Regions from separate parts of the Homo sapiens genome. Here all the other regions are linked to region 1. Evidence: promoter capture Hi-C in human tissues and cell types (Jung and others, 2019). All regions are on one chromosome and are shown on one strand. Each heading gives the region's core, a stretch centred on a gene start or on the middle of the fragment in contact. The rest is flanking DNA. Distances are from core to core; before and after follow the strand shown.

Region 1 (3,595 bases), core at 404-2,903:
ATAGTATAATTGTATGATAAATATTTTTTAAAAAACAAAATTAAGTAGTTACTATGCTATGGTAAAGGTATGAAAGGGCATAGCACAGTAAAAATACAAAAAAAAGAATTAAAGTTAAAATTTGAGAATTGAAGTCATTACTTAGAACATACATTAAAACATTATAACAATCTATTGCCTGAAGGCATGAAGTTGGAAGGCAGCTAGACTTCAAGATCGCCTCTCACCTGACCTCTCTGTTTTAGTTCTCTCTTCCAGAAAGGTGAGCAAATTAACCCTGAATCTTAAGGAAAGTGGAAGCATTAGATGAATTCCTAATATGCCACCGAACACAGTTTCTGCTACTTAGTGTTCAATAAATAGTAACCATGACTGATAAAGTTATTATTACTACATTAGTCCAATGCCCAGCTACACACACACTCAAGACAGTACCATCAAAAAGCATCAGAAATACCATGGTGAGTGTATATTTGGTATGAAAAACGAAAAAAATTTTTAAAAGCTTACTTATCATAGATAAACTACAAAAACTAGGACACTTCCATTTGAAAAACTAAGATCGAAATGAGATAATGACAATTATCACTAAAATTATAAAAGGTATAGGTAAAAATTGTGCAAAACTACTAAGTTTCAGATTGTTAGAACGAATTAATGAGATCTCCTTAAATTTAATAGTTATGACTTAATCCAGCAAAGCTCATGTTCTTGTAAGAAAAAGATACCAGAATGCAGGGAAAGTTAGAAAAGCTCAGAACAAACAGGGAAAAGCAGTTCAACTTAAATGAAGAGGACTTAAATTCAGAACTCCTCGAAAAGAATAACAGCATCAAGTAAAGAGGATAAGTAGGAGAAAGAAGAAGAGGAGCAGAAAGAAGCTCTCAATGGATATCTCATTTCCATAGTTTCATGACCTGTAGAGCCGTTTCTCCTCACTTAGAAGTCTTTCCCCAGTAGGTGCTGTCATGGGTTCCAAATACAATTAACTCTGCCCCTTTGCAGAAAATAATTTCTTGATACTCATCAGCTGTTACCACTTTTCTAGGGAGAAAGCAGAGAACACACAGTGGTTTTTTTTGCCTTCGTTCTTTGAAGCTAGCTCACACTTAACCATAGAAACAGTATGCAAGATGTGGTACCTGCACTACCCTGCCCTTGAAACTGTTTGGCTTCTTACGTTCTGACCACCTCCAAACCCACAATATTTGAAAACACAGCTTTCCCTGATGTCTGGCATTTTTCCATGAACTGCCATTGTATCTCCTTTTATTTTTTACTACTTTGTTTAAACCCCTCAAACCTTTCATCATAATATGCTTCCAGTGGGTTTGGGCAGCTACTCTGAGAGCCTGAGTATAAATCAACACCATTGTGATTCCTGAAGTTGCAAAGTGCTGTCACTCTTGAAACTTTGGGCTGCTTCTCTAGATCGTTGACAACATATAATGCACACAGAGACACACCACTTTCGAAGAAGACTGTTCAGGAGGCTAAGTTCTTAAAATCTTCAAAAGAGGTATAGCTGGTTGGCTGGGCACCACACTGTCAGGTGACTGTCATTTTTTCCTTTTGGTCTGAATTCCCATTGTGATATCATCAGAGGTTCCACACTTCACAAGGAAAGCTTCTTATGACCTCATCAGGAGGCTCAGACCTTGCCAGACTGCCTGCTTTCATGGATAGACATAAAAACCTTCAGCTTGAATGTTAACACCTTGATGGGAAAGGTGGCTCATGGAATGTTTTCTTATCCTTTGAACACTCCTCATTTCAGAAGCTTTGCTTCTGTTGCAACCAAACATGACACTTAGCGTGCTGAGCAGGAAGGACAAGGAAAGAGTAATTCGCAGACTGTTATTACAGGCCCCTCCAGGGGAATTTGTAAATGCCTTTGATGATCTCTGTCTGCTTATCCGTGATGAAAAACTTATGCACCACCAAGGTGAGTGTGCAGGCCACCAACACTGCCAAAAATATTCTGTACCACTCTGCATCGATGGAAATCCAGTACTCTTGTCTCACCACAATGTAATGGGCGACTACCGATTTTTTGACCATCAAAGCAAACTTTCTTTCAAATATGACCTGCTTCAAAATCAGCTGAAAGACATCCAAAGTCATGGTATCATTCAGAATGAGGCAGAATACCTGAGAGTTGTTCTTCTGTGCGCCTTAAAACTGTATGTGAATGACCACTATCCAAAAGGAAATTGCAACATGCTGAGAAAAACTGTCAAAAGTAAGGAGTACTTGATAGCTTGCATTGAAGATCACAACTATGAAACAGGAGAGTGCTGGAACGGACTTTGGAAATCTAAATGGATTTTCCAAGTTAACCCATTTCTAACCCAAGTAACGGGAAGAATATTTGTGCAAGCTCACTTCTTCAGGTGTGTCAACCTTCATATTGAAATATCCAAGGACCTGAAAGAAAGCTTGGAAATAGTTAACCAAGCTCAACTGGCTCTAAGTTTTGCAAGGCTTGTGGAAGAGCAAGAGAACAAATTTCAAGCTGCAGTCTTGGAAGAATTACAGGAGTTATCCAATGAAGCCCTGAGAAAAATTCTACGAAGGGATCTTCCAGTGACCCGCACTCTTATTGACTGGCACAGGATACTCTCTGACTTGAATCTGGTGATGTATCCTAAATTAGGATATGTCATTTATTCAAGAAGTGTGTTGTGCAACTGGATAATATAAAGAATTGCTCCTGGTAACTATCTTGATTTGACTTGTTTGTGTTTCTTGGGAATGGTTATTTTCCTAAAATTGAGCAATCTGTAGAGATGTCTCTCACTTAGCCAATGCAAATTTAAATGGGAAAAGTGTAGCAAGTAATTTTACTTGGGGAATATTTATGAACAAGGCAAGAAAGTGTAAAGTAACTGTGTTTCATGGTGGTGACCATCATAAAGACCAAGACATTTGTTAGAAACTAAAATAGTTTTATAGAATCTGGGATTCCAGAAATAGTATAGAGGTGGCCAGGGTTAAGGCTGTGTGTGGGTGTGTACGTGTGTGTGTGTGTGTGTGTGTGTGTGTGTGAGAGAGAGAGAGAGAGAGAGAGAGAGACTTTTGACTGTTTCGAACTGAAAAGGTATACAAATGAATATCACTCCACAAATGATATTTTACATAACTCAATTCAGTCCTAGACCATCCACGAGATGGGGAATTTCAATAAAAGACATTAGGTTTGGATTTTCCACAAAACCAACAGATATCAAAAATCTAGCTCAGATGAAGGACTATTAGTAATTTTGGCTCCTCTTCCACTCTACTTTCTTCCCCTCAAGAATTGGGGTTACTCAAAATCCCTGGCTTGTCTGATAACTAACATGGTCTTCCAAGCCAACCAGAGAAGCCTGACTTCCCAAACTTTTACAGCCAGGCTTTTGTGAAGTCGTCACTGTAAACACTTAGAAGTACTTATTACATAACATGGCTTGTGCTAAATATTTTGCATAACATTTTTCATCACTAATCTGGTACTAGTATTATCTCCGTTGTACCTAAGAAAAACCTAAGTTCTCAAGTTGTTCACATCTTCCAGACACATAGTGTCACAGTTCACTTGTGCTGCTATAACAAA
Region 2 (3,595 bases), core at 740-3,239, 940 kb after region 1:
TATTTTTCTTATTGATTTTAGGAGTTCTCTTGTATTCTGAATCGGAGCCTTTTGTCAGTAAGATGTATGGAAACATCTTCCACTCTGGGGCTTAACTTTTTACTTCTTAGTGATGTCTTTGATGAACAGACGTTATTAATTTTAACATAATATAATTGATCAATTTTTGTTTATTTTATGGTTAGTCCCTTTTAAATTCTGTTTAATAAATCTGTTTAATAAATTTTATATTTTTTGTTTTTTATAAATTTTATTAAAATATTCTTTTATGATTTATTCCAGAAGCCCTATTTTTTTAAACAAATTTAATTGATATATAATAATTATACAGTCAGGTGTGGTGGCTCATGCCTGTAATACCAGCACCTTGGGAGGCTGAGGCGGGCAGATTACTTGGGCCTAGGAGTTCAACATGGTGAAACCCCATCTCTACAAAAAATACAAAAATTAGCCGAGTATGGTAGCATGTGTCTGTAGTCCTAGCTACTTGGGAGGCTGAGGTGGGAGGATCACTGGAGCCTGGGAGGTCGAGGCTGCAGTGAACCGAGATCTCAGCACTGCACCACAGCCTGGGCAACAGAGCAAGACCTTGTCGCAACAAAAATAGTTATACATATTTTTGGGGTACCTGTGATATTTTGATACATGTATACAATGTGTAACAATCAGGGTAACTGGGATATCCATCACCTCAAACATTTATCTTTTCTTTGTGTCGGGAATATTATAATTATCTTCTAGCTATTTTGATATGTACAATAAATTATTCTTAATTGTAATTTCCCTACTGTACTATTGAATGTTAGAACTTATTCCTACTATTTAACTGCACTTTTGTACCTATTAACTAACTTCTTTTTATGCCCCCTTCTCCCTTCCCTTCCCAGCCCCTGGTAACCAGCATTCTATCCTCTACTGCCATGGGATCCACTTTTTTAGCTCCCACAGATGAATGAGAACATGTGATATTTGACTTTCTGTGCGCCAAGAAGCTCAGTTTTTTAGCTTTCACATATAGATAGATCTACAGTATATCTGGAACTGGTATTTGCATATGAGGTGAGGCAGAAGCTCAAGATTCACATTTTCCCCTGTGGTTACCCAACTGATTCATATCCAGTTGACCCAGCAACACTGACTAAAAAGAATATCCTTTTCCTAACTAATCGTGTGTTACTTTAATCATACATCAAGTGGACTCTTTTCTTTTCCATTGACTAATATCTATCCTTTCACTAATTCTCTTAATTACTGCAGCAATGTAATAAGTCTTGATACCTGAAAGTGAAAGACTAACTGTTCTTTGTATTACTATACAAATATTTGAACCAGCTTGTTAAATTTATTAAACAAAATTTAGCTGGGATTTGGACTGGGATTGCACTGAATTTATAGATCAATTTGGGAGAAAATGATAATTTTACAATATTGAGTCTTCTAATTTATGAATATAATATCTCTCTCCCAATAATTTTAGTTATTTTTTATTTTATTTATTTTATTTTTGGGGACAGGGTCTTGCACTGTCACCCAGGTTGGAGTACAGTGGCACAATCATCTCTCACTGCAATCTTAACCTCCTGGGCTCAATCAATTCTCCTACCTCAGCCTTCCAAGTAGCTAGGACTACAAACGTGTGCCAGTAGGCATGGCTAATTTTTGTTTGTTTGTTTGTTTGTTTTGGAGAGATGGGGTTTCGCTATGTTGCCCAGGCTGTTCTCAAACTCCTGGTCTCTAGCAATCTGTTCACCTTGGCCTCCCAAAGTGCTGGGATTATAGGCATGAGCCACCATGCCCAGCCAACATTTTGTATTTTTTTGGAGTAGAGATGTTACACTTCACTCATTAGATTTATTTCTAAGTACTTGATGATTTATTCCAGAATAAATTATTTATTTATTCATTTTTGTGATAAAGTGACTTGTATTTAGTAAAATTCTCATGAATGCGCTATCAAGTTCCATATAGCAGTACGGTTACCCAGCCAATTCTGGAATGCAGAAAAACTTGGAGTATGTCAGTTGTGTCTTTTCCCAATCTTCTGTTTTTACAACAGAAGCAGAAGAGGAGGGATTGTAGGGTAATCTTCTTTATTTTTATATTTATTTTTCCATAGGTTATTGGGGTACAGGTTGTATTCGGTTACATGAATAAGTTCTTTAGTGGAGCTTTGTGAGATTTTGGTGCACCCATCACCCGAGCAGTGTACACCGTATCCTATTTGTAGTCTTTTATCCCTCGCCCTGCTCCCACCGTTCCCTTCAAGTCCCCAAAGTCCATTGTATCATTCTATGCCTTTGCGTCCTCATAGCTTAGCTCCCACATATCAGTGAGAACATACGGTGTTTGATTTTCCATTCCTGAATTACTTCACTTAGAATAATAGTCTCCAGTCTCAACCAGGTCACTGCAAATGCTGTGAATTCTTTCCTTTTTATGGCTGAGTAGTATTCCATCATTCTTCTACATGTGGCTAGCCATTTGTTGAAAAGGGTGTCCTTTCCCCACTTTATGTTTTTGTTTGTTTTGTCGAAGATCAGTTGGCTGTAAGTATTTGGGTTTATTTTTGGGTTCTCTATTCTGTTCCATTGGTCTATGTGCCTATTTTAATATTAGTACCACACTGTTTTGGTGACTATAGCCTTATAGCATAGTGTGAAATCAGGTAGTGTGATGCCTTCAGATTTGTTCTTTTTGCTTAGTCTTGCTTTGGCTATGCAGGCTCTTTTTTGGTTTCATATGACTTTTAGAATTGTTGTTTCTAATTCTGTGAAGTATAATGGTGGTATTTTGATGGGGATTGTGTTGAATTTGTGGATTGCTTTTGGCAGTATGGTCATTTTCACAATATTGATTCTACCCATTCATGAGCATGGGATGTGTTTCCATTTGTTTGTGTCATCTATGATTTCTTTCAGCAGTGTTTTGTAGTTTTCCTCATAGTGGTCTTTTGCCTCCTTGGTTAGGTATATTCCTAAGTATTTTATTTTATTTTTTGCAGCTATTGTAAAAGGAGTTGAGTTCTTGATTTGACTCTCCACTTGGTCGCTGTTGGTGTATAGAAGAGCTATTGATTTGTGTACATTAATCTTGCATCTGGAAACTTTGCTGAATTCTTTGATTTGTTCTAGGAACTTTCCAGAGGAGTCCTTAGGGCTTTCAAGGTAAACGATCATATCACCAGCAAACAGTGACAATTTGACTTCCTCTTTACCAGTTTGGATGCCCTTTATTTCTTTCTCTTGTCTGATTGCTCTGGCTAGGACTTCTAGTACTATGTTGAAGAGGAGTGGTGAGAGTGGGCATCCTTGTCTTGTTCCGGTTCTCTGAGGGAATGCTTTCAACTTTTCCCCATTCAGTATTATGTGGCTGTGGGTTTGTCATAGATGGCTTTTATTACATTGAGGTATGTCCCTTGTATGCCAATTTTGCTGCGAGTTTTAATCATAAAGGAATGCTGGATTTTGTCAAATGCTTTTTTTGCATCTTTAAGATGATCGTGTGATTTTTGTTTTTAATTCTGTTTATGTGGTGTATCACATTTATTGACTTGTGTATGTTAAACCATCCCTGCATCCGTGGTATGAAACCCACT
Region 3 (3,595 bases), core at 413-2,912, 550 kb after region 1:
GTGATCCGCCTCCCTCAGCCTCCCAAAGTGCTGGGATTACAGGCGTGAGCCACTGTGCCCGGACTACATTTATTTTAATTATTTTATGTAGTTCTGTTAGAAAGTTGGACATGCAGGTATTTGTACTATTGCTGGGAAAAGGTGTAATTTTTTTAGATATCTTAGTAAAATATCTTTTAATAATTTTTTAGTAGCACTTATGTACAAACCTTTATAATGTTTTTTTGGCATTGTGCTTTTTTGTACTTAACATTTAAATGTTCTCATGAGTTCTGAGAAAATGCCTTAATTTACTGTTGTTTTGCTGTATCTTTTAAAGTAACACTGTTCCTTCTATTTCTCTAGATATCTATGCATTTATGTAGGACCTATCATCATAGTGCCTAGGCACTATGTTTGATGTCAACCATAAGAGGAAACTTGCCAAGAAATCTTGGTTTAATATCTGTCACTTAAGACAACAATTAATCTGTTTTCCACTGTTTGGATTCTTAAATTGTACTCCTTCAGCCAGAGGAGCTTACGCTGCTGCTAATAAAGCTGAGACGGCAGCAAGCCGAACTGAGTAGTATCCGGGAGCATACGTTAGCACAGCTCATGCAGCTAAAGCTTGAGGCCCACAGCCCAAAGGTCAGCTATGGAGAGATTTGTCTGTGTCGTCTGCCATCATCTCTTATTTTGAAACACTCATCAGTCAATATGATCAGCATCATTAGTGTTGAGCATGAGCCCATACCATCATTATAGTGACAACATTAGAATCTCCTATTAACCCTTTGAGAATTCAACTTATTTATACATTACTGAAAGAAAATACAGGTAGGGTGCATTTCTTCTTAGCCTTCTACCCCACCCGCTCACCCACTGGCTTTTGGTTTTGAGGAAGGCAATGCGTACAATACTTCATGTACGCATTAACTTCATGTTGTTACTCACTGAATACTGTGACTTCCATATCTGGTAAAACAAATATTGAGAAGTCCTATAATTTCCAATAAAACAATAAATTAAAAATTCATTATAGCTTTAATAATACTGCCTTTTAAATGTTAAAAATTAATTTTAAAATGTCTTATTTTTAATGAAAAGAACGAACACATAACCGTTTCTCAAAGGGTTTATAGCTCTGGTTATATAAGAAAGATCTTATTTAAAGAAGTAGTACTATATTAGAGGAAATAATTGACATGTAAAAGTTCTAACAGTCAGTTTGCTAAAGCTATTTTAAGGAATTTTTCTGCTTAATAGTTCATTGTTCATATGCATGTCTACGTAATTTCTTACAAAACAAAATATAATTTTGTAATTTAATATGTCAGCGGTACCATTTACAGGGGAGCATGTGCGTGAAAGTTGTCGTGTACTGTGATATAATAGGTTGTAGTAAATTACCTGTTTTTCTTATTCCAAAATTGACCTTTTCTTGAATTCCACATCCTCTTTCTCTGTCCCTTTTTTCTTAATTGGTGCCTACTAGAATGAAATTCTTTCACATCATCTCCAAAGGAACACCATATATTTGGATCATCAGGTGGGATTCATAGAGATTTTCTTACTTTTAATACTTAATAGAACTTCTTAAATATAATACAGTTTTTCAGGCTTCTCAGCTATTTCAGTCACGTTGAATTAATAACATGACTTTTACAAGTGATAGAATATGAAATCTCTGACCAGGTGGATTCAGGAATTCCATAATAAACAGGGAGAAAGGACAGGTGTGGAGGTAAAGAGGGATACAAATGCTGGGTCACCTGAAATTGAGGGCCTAAATTCTCTAGACTTCGTTCTTCTTATCCCATTAAAACACCTACTCCTTGAGGCTTATCTCAGCTTGGAGCTGACCTAATTAAAGGAACAGACACCAAGCTGTGAATTGTCTTGTTGGAAGGCAAGAAGGAGGGTGAATGTAGTGTGCTCTGTATTCCTAAAGGGGAGTTTAAAGGTGGGTGAAGTTGGCTGGATGCAATGGCTCATGCCTGTAATCCCAGCACTTTGGGAGGCTGAGGCAGGCGGCTCACTGGAGGCCAGGAGTTCGAGACGAGGCTGGCCAACATGGAGAAACCCTGCCTCTACTAAAAATACAAAAATGAGCCGGGCGTCACAGTGAACGTCTGTAATCCCAGCAGCTTGGGAGGCTGAGGCATGAGAATTGCTTGAACCCGGGAGGTGGAGGTTGCAGTGAGCCGAGATCATGCACCACTGCACTCCAGCCTGGGCTACAGCGCAAGACTCTGTCTTAAAAATAAAGAAACAGAGAAAGAGAGAGAGGGAGGGAGTAAGGGAGGAAGGAAGATGGGTGAAGTGTGTAGTGGAGGTGATTTGCAGTTGCCTGTCCTTATTCCCTGTTTGCTGTGTACTTCCAATGTTTGGTCTTTGCCAACGTGTGTAGAGCCAGTTTTATAGGAGGCTCACATTCCTAGCATTACCTCAGTGGTGGCACCAGGTGTGCCTGGTTGAGGTGAATGTTCAAAAGTGAAAATGGCAATGGGCCGGGTGTGGTGGCTCCCGCCTGTAATCCCAGCACTTTGGGAGGCTGAGGCAGGTGGATCACCTAAGGTCAGGAATTTGAGACCAGCCCAGCCAACGTGGCGAAACACCGTCTCTACTAAAAATACAAAAACTAGCCGAGCATGGTGGTGTGCACCTGTAATCCCTGCTACTTGGGAGGCTGAGGCAGGAGAATCACTTGAGCCCTGGAGGCAGAGGTTGCAGTGAACCAAGATCACACCACTGCACTCCAGCTTGGGTAACAGAGCGAGACTCTATCTCAAAAAAAAAGAAAGTGGCATTTAACAAGGAGTGACTCAGTTTTTATAAAATGTTCTATTAATATTTAATTTTAATTTGTTGGGAATTTTTTGTTATTAGACATAATTTCTTTCATTGAATACATTTTTTTATATAAATCAAGCTAAAACTTATTCTAGCTTGTTTCAAAATGTCCAAACTTGACTATTTTATCAAATAAAGAGGTTACTGTAGAAAATAAGACAAATGCTTTCATATTTATATTTGCCTGTTTGAAACAAAACAGTAATGTGCTACTTTAAATTAGTTGTATTTAAAGAGGGATTTTGCATTAGGATAACCCTTTGAAAGGTGTTAAATCATTTTCCTTATTTTAATTTTTAAAAGTAACACACTTTTGTTAATATAAAATTTATATATTTTCCACAAAACATTTTCATCAGCATTTTGGCCATTGGAATACTTTAAAAATCAGCATTTCATGTATCCGAATTCCAGATCTTCAATCCAGAGATTGAGGCTATTGAAATTTAACCACAGTGTATATTATGCACTTTGTATATTATGCACTAGAAAAATGCATCTTCCTTCAAAATTCTACACTGCCAGAAAGCTGCTAAGATACATGGGAAATAAAAAACTCCTTTGTATTTAGAGCTGCAAATAGTCCTAAAAAATAGGTTTAAAAAACAATGATATAAACATGAATCTGAAGTTACCCCACATCTCTGAAAATAAACCTTGTGGTTTACTGTAATTTATTACTGACCTCATTGAATCAAAACTTGCAGAGACATAGAACTTCAGAAAATTTTAGAAAAGGACAGGTAAATATATCAAAAAC
Region 4 (3,595 bases), core at 556-3,055, 520 kb after region 1:
TCACCTGAGGTCAGGAGTTCAAGACCAACCTGACCAACATGGTGAAATCCTGTCTCTACTAAAAATACAAAAAATTAACTGGGCGCGTGATGGTGGGCGCCTATAATCCAAGCTACTTGGGAGGCTGAGGCAGAAGAATTGCTTGAACCCAGAAGGCAGAGGTTGTAGTAAGCCGAGAATGCGCCATTGCACTCCAACCTGGGCGACAAGAATAAAACTCCGTCTCAAAAACAAAAAAAAAGGCTGGAAGTTTGAATTTCATTTCCTTTGTAGACTAATGTTACAATAAATAAATGGGAATTTTAAATACCTGCATGTTCTGTTTTTCTTTTTTCCTTTTTTCAGCCATAATGAAAGGAAAGTGACCTGCAAACATCCAGTCACAGGACAACCATCACAGGACAATTGTATTTTTGTAGTGAATGAACAGTAAGTAAAGAGTTTCATGGAATGCCTGTATTCAAAATTGGGTTAGCATTGAAATTGCTGTTATTTATATTTCAATTTAGCAGTTTTCTTATCTGGACATTTGTAGTCAAGTATAATAACAGAATGCCAGCTGTTCACAATGTGTCATATAGAAACCTGAGTTAAACATTTTTTTCATGAAGAATGTAATTTCAGAAGCTGTTTTTATAGTACTTCAAACGCAGTAAGCTCAAGAACCCGGGATGCAAGCTTAGAGAAACTGTGTAAATGGTTAGATTATTAAACTAATTTGAGCTCACTTTTCTCATCCTTAAATCAGATAGTGGTAATTACTATTTCACAAGAGTTTTATAAGCATCAAAGAATGTATTATACTATAAAGCTATTCACAGAGTTAGTTACTGAAATTGTTATTGTTTTTAAAATTAGAATAATCTCATAATTCATTTTTAATTTTTCAGTTGGGTGACCAAGTAGAATATCTGCAATAATGCCTATTATAAATAAACATGATAGGCCGGGCACAGTGGCTCACGCCTGTAATCCTAGCACTTTGGGAGGCCAAGGTGGGCGAATCACTTGAGGTCAGGCATTCAAGACCAGCCTGGCCAACATGGTGAAACCCTGACTGTACTAAAAAAATAGAAAAATTAGCCGGGCATGGTGGAACGTGCTGGTAGTCCCAGCTACTGAGGAGTCTGAGGCAGGAAAATCACTTGAACCTGGGAGGCAGATTCTACAGTGAACCAAGATTACGCCACTGCACTGTAGCCTGAGCAACAGAGTGAGACTCTTGTCTTAAAAACTAATAATAAATAAACATGATAATAATGTATTTTTGGCTTAGGAAAAGCGTTAGCTGTATTTAAAGTTGTTGTAAGTATTAAGGCCTGACTCTAGAGTAACTAGGATCCAAGTACTGTGAAAAAGTAGGACACTCGCATTGTTAACTGTAGAGAAGTGTAATTATAAAGCGGGTTACATACACAGCAAGTTCTAGCATTTTGACATATATTTTCAGGACTGTTGCAACCATGACATCTGAAGAAAAGAAGGAACGGCCAATAAGTATGATAAATGAAGCTTCTAACTATAACGTGACTTCAGATTATGCAGTGCATCCAATGAGCCCTGTAGGCAGAGTAAGTTATTTTGCTTTATATTAATTATTGATAAGGAGTAAACAGTATCTATACCGTTACTCATAATGGACTTAAAAGTATAGAATAATAATTACATTTTTATTATTACATGAATTTGAAGGTAATTGATATAAGAAGCAACAGCCCGAAATACAAAGTAATAAGATTGTAATTCAGTGACTTAAATTTTTAAATTTGGAATAATTTTAGAAATACATTGATATTTGTGAGAGAGAATGGGTACACTTAAGTTTTAAAGGTGATTATTCATGTAATAGCCTAGAAATCAAATTATCTGACTATAAGAATGCTTAGATGGAGAAAACATTTTTCAGCAAAACCATTGTAATAGTATATTATGTTTATTGTAAGGAAATAGATAATTATAAGATAATTATAATAATAGTATTTTAAATGCCAGTTAAGGTTTTTGAAATAAAATTTTGTTAGGAGATTATAAATGAATGTAAATTTTCAAGTAATATAAATAATTTCTGATTATTAAGTAAAATAAATCCAACAGGCTAACTGAGCATAATGCTTTATGAGTATATTTTAATTAAAATCTGGAGAAATTGATGAATGGATTGAGAGCCACTAGGTCATTGTCTTGAAAGAAAGTTGAATCTGTTCCTCATACTTTACACCAGAAATTTTCTAGATGGATCAGTTGTTGAAATGTTAAAAACAAAACTAAGAAAAAAACAATGGAAGATTTGAAAAAAAAAAAAAAAGAAAAGCTCAGAATGCAGATGGGCTTTCTAAATATGACATAAAACTCAGAAGTAACAATATAAAATAATGAGAAATTCAACCACACGTAATTATTATCCATGCAGAGTATCTGTAATTCATATAACAATTAAAGAATAATTTCCTTATAATTAAAGAAGTGCTGTGAATCAATAAGAAAAGGGCTTATGAGCCAGTTTGGAAATGGAAAAATTATATGAAATCAGTTTTCGGGAAAGAAAATGGAATTTACTCTTAAATATATGAAAAAAGATTCTCAGCCTCATCCATAATATGAAAAATACTAATTAAAACCAGAAAAAGACACCATTTCCACCTGCAGATTTCCAAAGATCAGAAAGTTTCATAACACAGCACACTAACAACAGTATGGGTAAATAGGCATTCGGTTTATATAGTGAGCTCCAAGAAATAATGGAACAGAAGAGTGGATATTAAAATATGCAGTCATTTCAGAAAAATACTCATTAATCATGAGAACAATTATTTTAGATAGATAGGCACACACATACAGTGATATTGGTTGCCACACAGTTGTGAGTGGGGCTAGCTGGGTGCTGGAGCCCAAGAGTGAGTAGATTGATCTTTGTGTATCTTTTTGTGTCGTTTGAGTTTTATACTGTTTTTAAGCATTACCTGTTTGAAAGTAAATTAAAATCTATCAAGAAAACATGCTTTAGGAAAAATTTTGTTGATATTGGGCCTTAAAATTTTCTTATATACTAATAAAAGCTTCCCAAAACAAAATTCTAAAGAAGTATGCTGGATTTCCAAAGATTCTGAACAAGTAGAAAAGTAAGAGATAATTTTATGTTACTTTATAGCTTCATTGTTTTCATCTTTGTTGGTCACCATTATGATTCCTGCCAAAATAAATCTTCATGGTAACCATAGCAGTATTTTTAAAGACTGTATATCCTTATGTGTATTTTGAAGAATCCAGTAAACCCCATCTGTCTAGTTTAAGTTCAGAGTTGTCCATAAAAAAGAAAACACTACATCACATTAAGCAGATCCTTCCTGTCCTGTTTTGACTTGATGTGATATATTTGTTTATATTTAATATCTGTATATTTCTCCTCAGACTGAGTGCCATTAACTTTCTTTAATTGAACCTGCACTATTAAATGCAGATATAAAGGGAAAAGTTCTGTCATTTGGTTTATTCTTAAAGATCTGTTAACAGTTTTTACTCAAGATCTATTCATTTTATATAGCAGGTAGGACAAAATACTGCCACATACTCTGTGTTTCTAAAAATTGTATATCCT

The links. Contacts are between HindIII fragments. The study calls those that stand out against the background at their distance.
Region 2: a contact is called between a fragment that was not itself captured here and the fragment with the promoter of CAPZA3 in region 1, in 1 of the 25 tissues and cell types used here (dorsolateral prefrontal cortex).
Region 3: a contact is called between a fragment that was not itself captured here and the fragment with the promoter of CAPZA3 in region 1, in 2 of the 25 tissues and cell types used here (heart right ventricle and thymus).
Region 4: a fragment that was not itself captured here is called in contact with the fragment with the promoter of CAPZA3 in region 1 in 3 of the 25 tissues and cell types used here (dorsolateral prefrontal cortex, mesendoderm cells and thymus).

The regions. Positions count from the first base shown.
Region 1 is chr12:18,736,466-18,740,060 of GRCh38, forward strand. It overlaps CAPZA3 (capping actin protein of muscle Z-line subunit alpha 3), which reads left to right and starts at 1,654. Exons shown (of 1, transcript NM_033328.3): 1 at 1,654-2,723. The coding sequence starts at 1,804. The coding sequence ends at 2,703. It overlaps PLCZ1 (phospholipase C zeta 1), which reads right to left and starts at 1,547. Exons shown (of 15, transcript NM_033123.4): 1 at 1,467-1,547; 2 at 896-1,044. The coding sequence starts at 906. The HindIII fragment of the contact is 1,043 bases long and covers 1,067-2,109 here.
Region 2 is chr12:19,674,410-19,678,004 of GRCh38, forward strand. No RefSeq gene overlaps it. Among named protein-coding and RNA genes, the nearest start is that of AEBP2, 240 kb to the left of the region's middle. The HindIII fragment of the contact is 9,322 bases long and covers 1-3,595 here.
Region 3 is chr12:19,290,167-19,293,761 of GRCh38, forward strand. PLEKHA5 (pleckstrin homology domain containing A5) reads left to right here. Exons shown (of 32, transcript NM_001256470.2): 14 at 511-630; 15 at 1,478-1,531. Among named protein-coding and RNA genes, the nearest start is that of AEBP2, 150 kb to the right of the region's middle. The HindIII fragment of the contact is 4,219 bases long and covers 1-3,595 here.
Region 4 is chr12:19,253,595-19,257,189 of GRCh38, forward strand. PLEKHA5 (pleckstrin homology domain containing A5) reads left to right here. Exons shown (of 32, transcript NM_001256470.2): 4 at 346-429; 5 at 1,451-1,571. Among named protein-coding and RNA genes, the nearest start is that of PLEKHA5, 130 kb to the left of the region's middle. The HindIII fragment of the contact is 4,359 bases long and covers 1-3,595 here.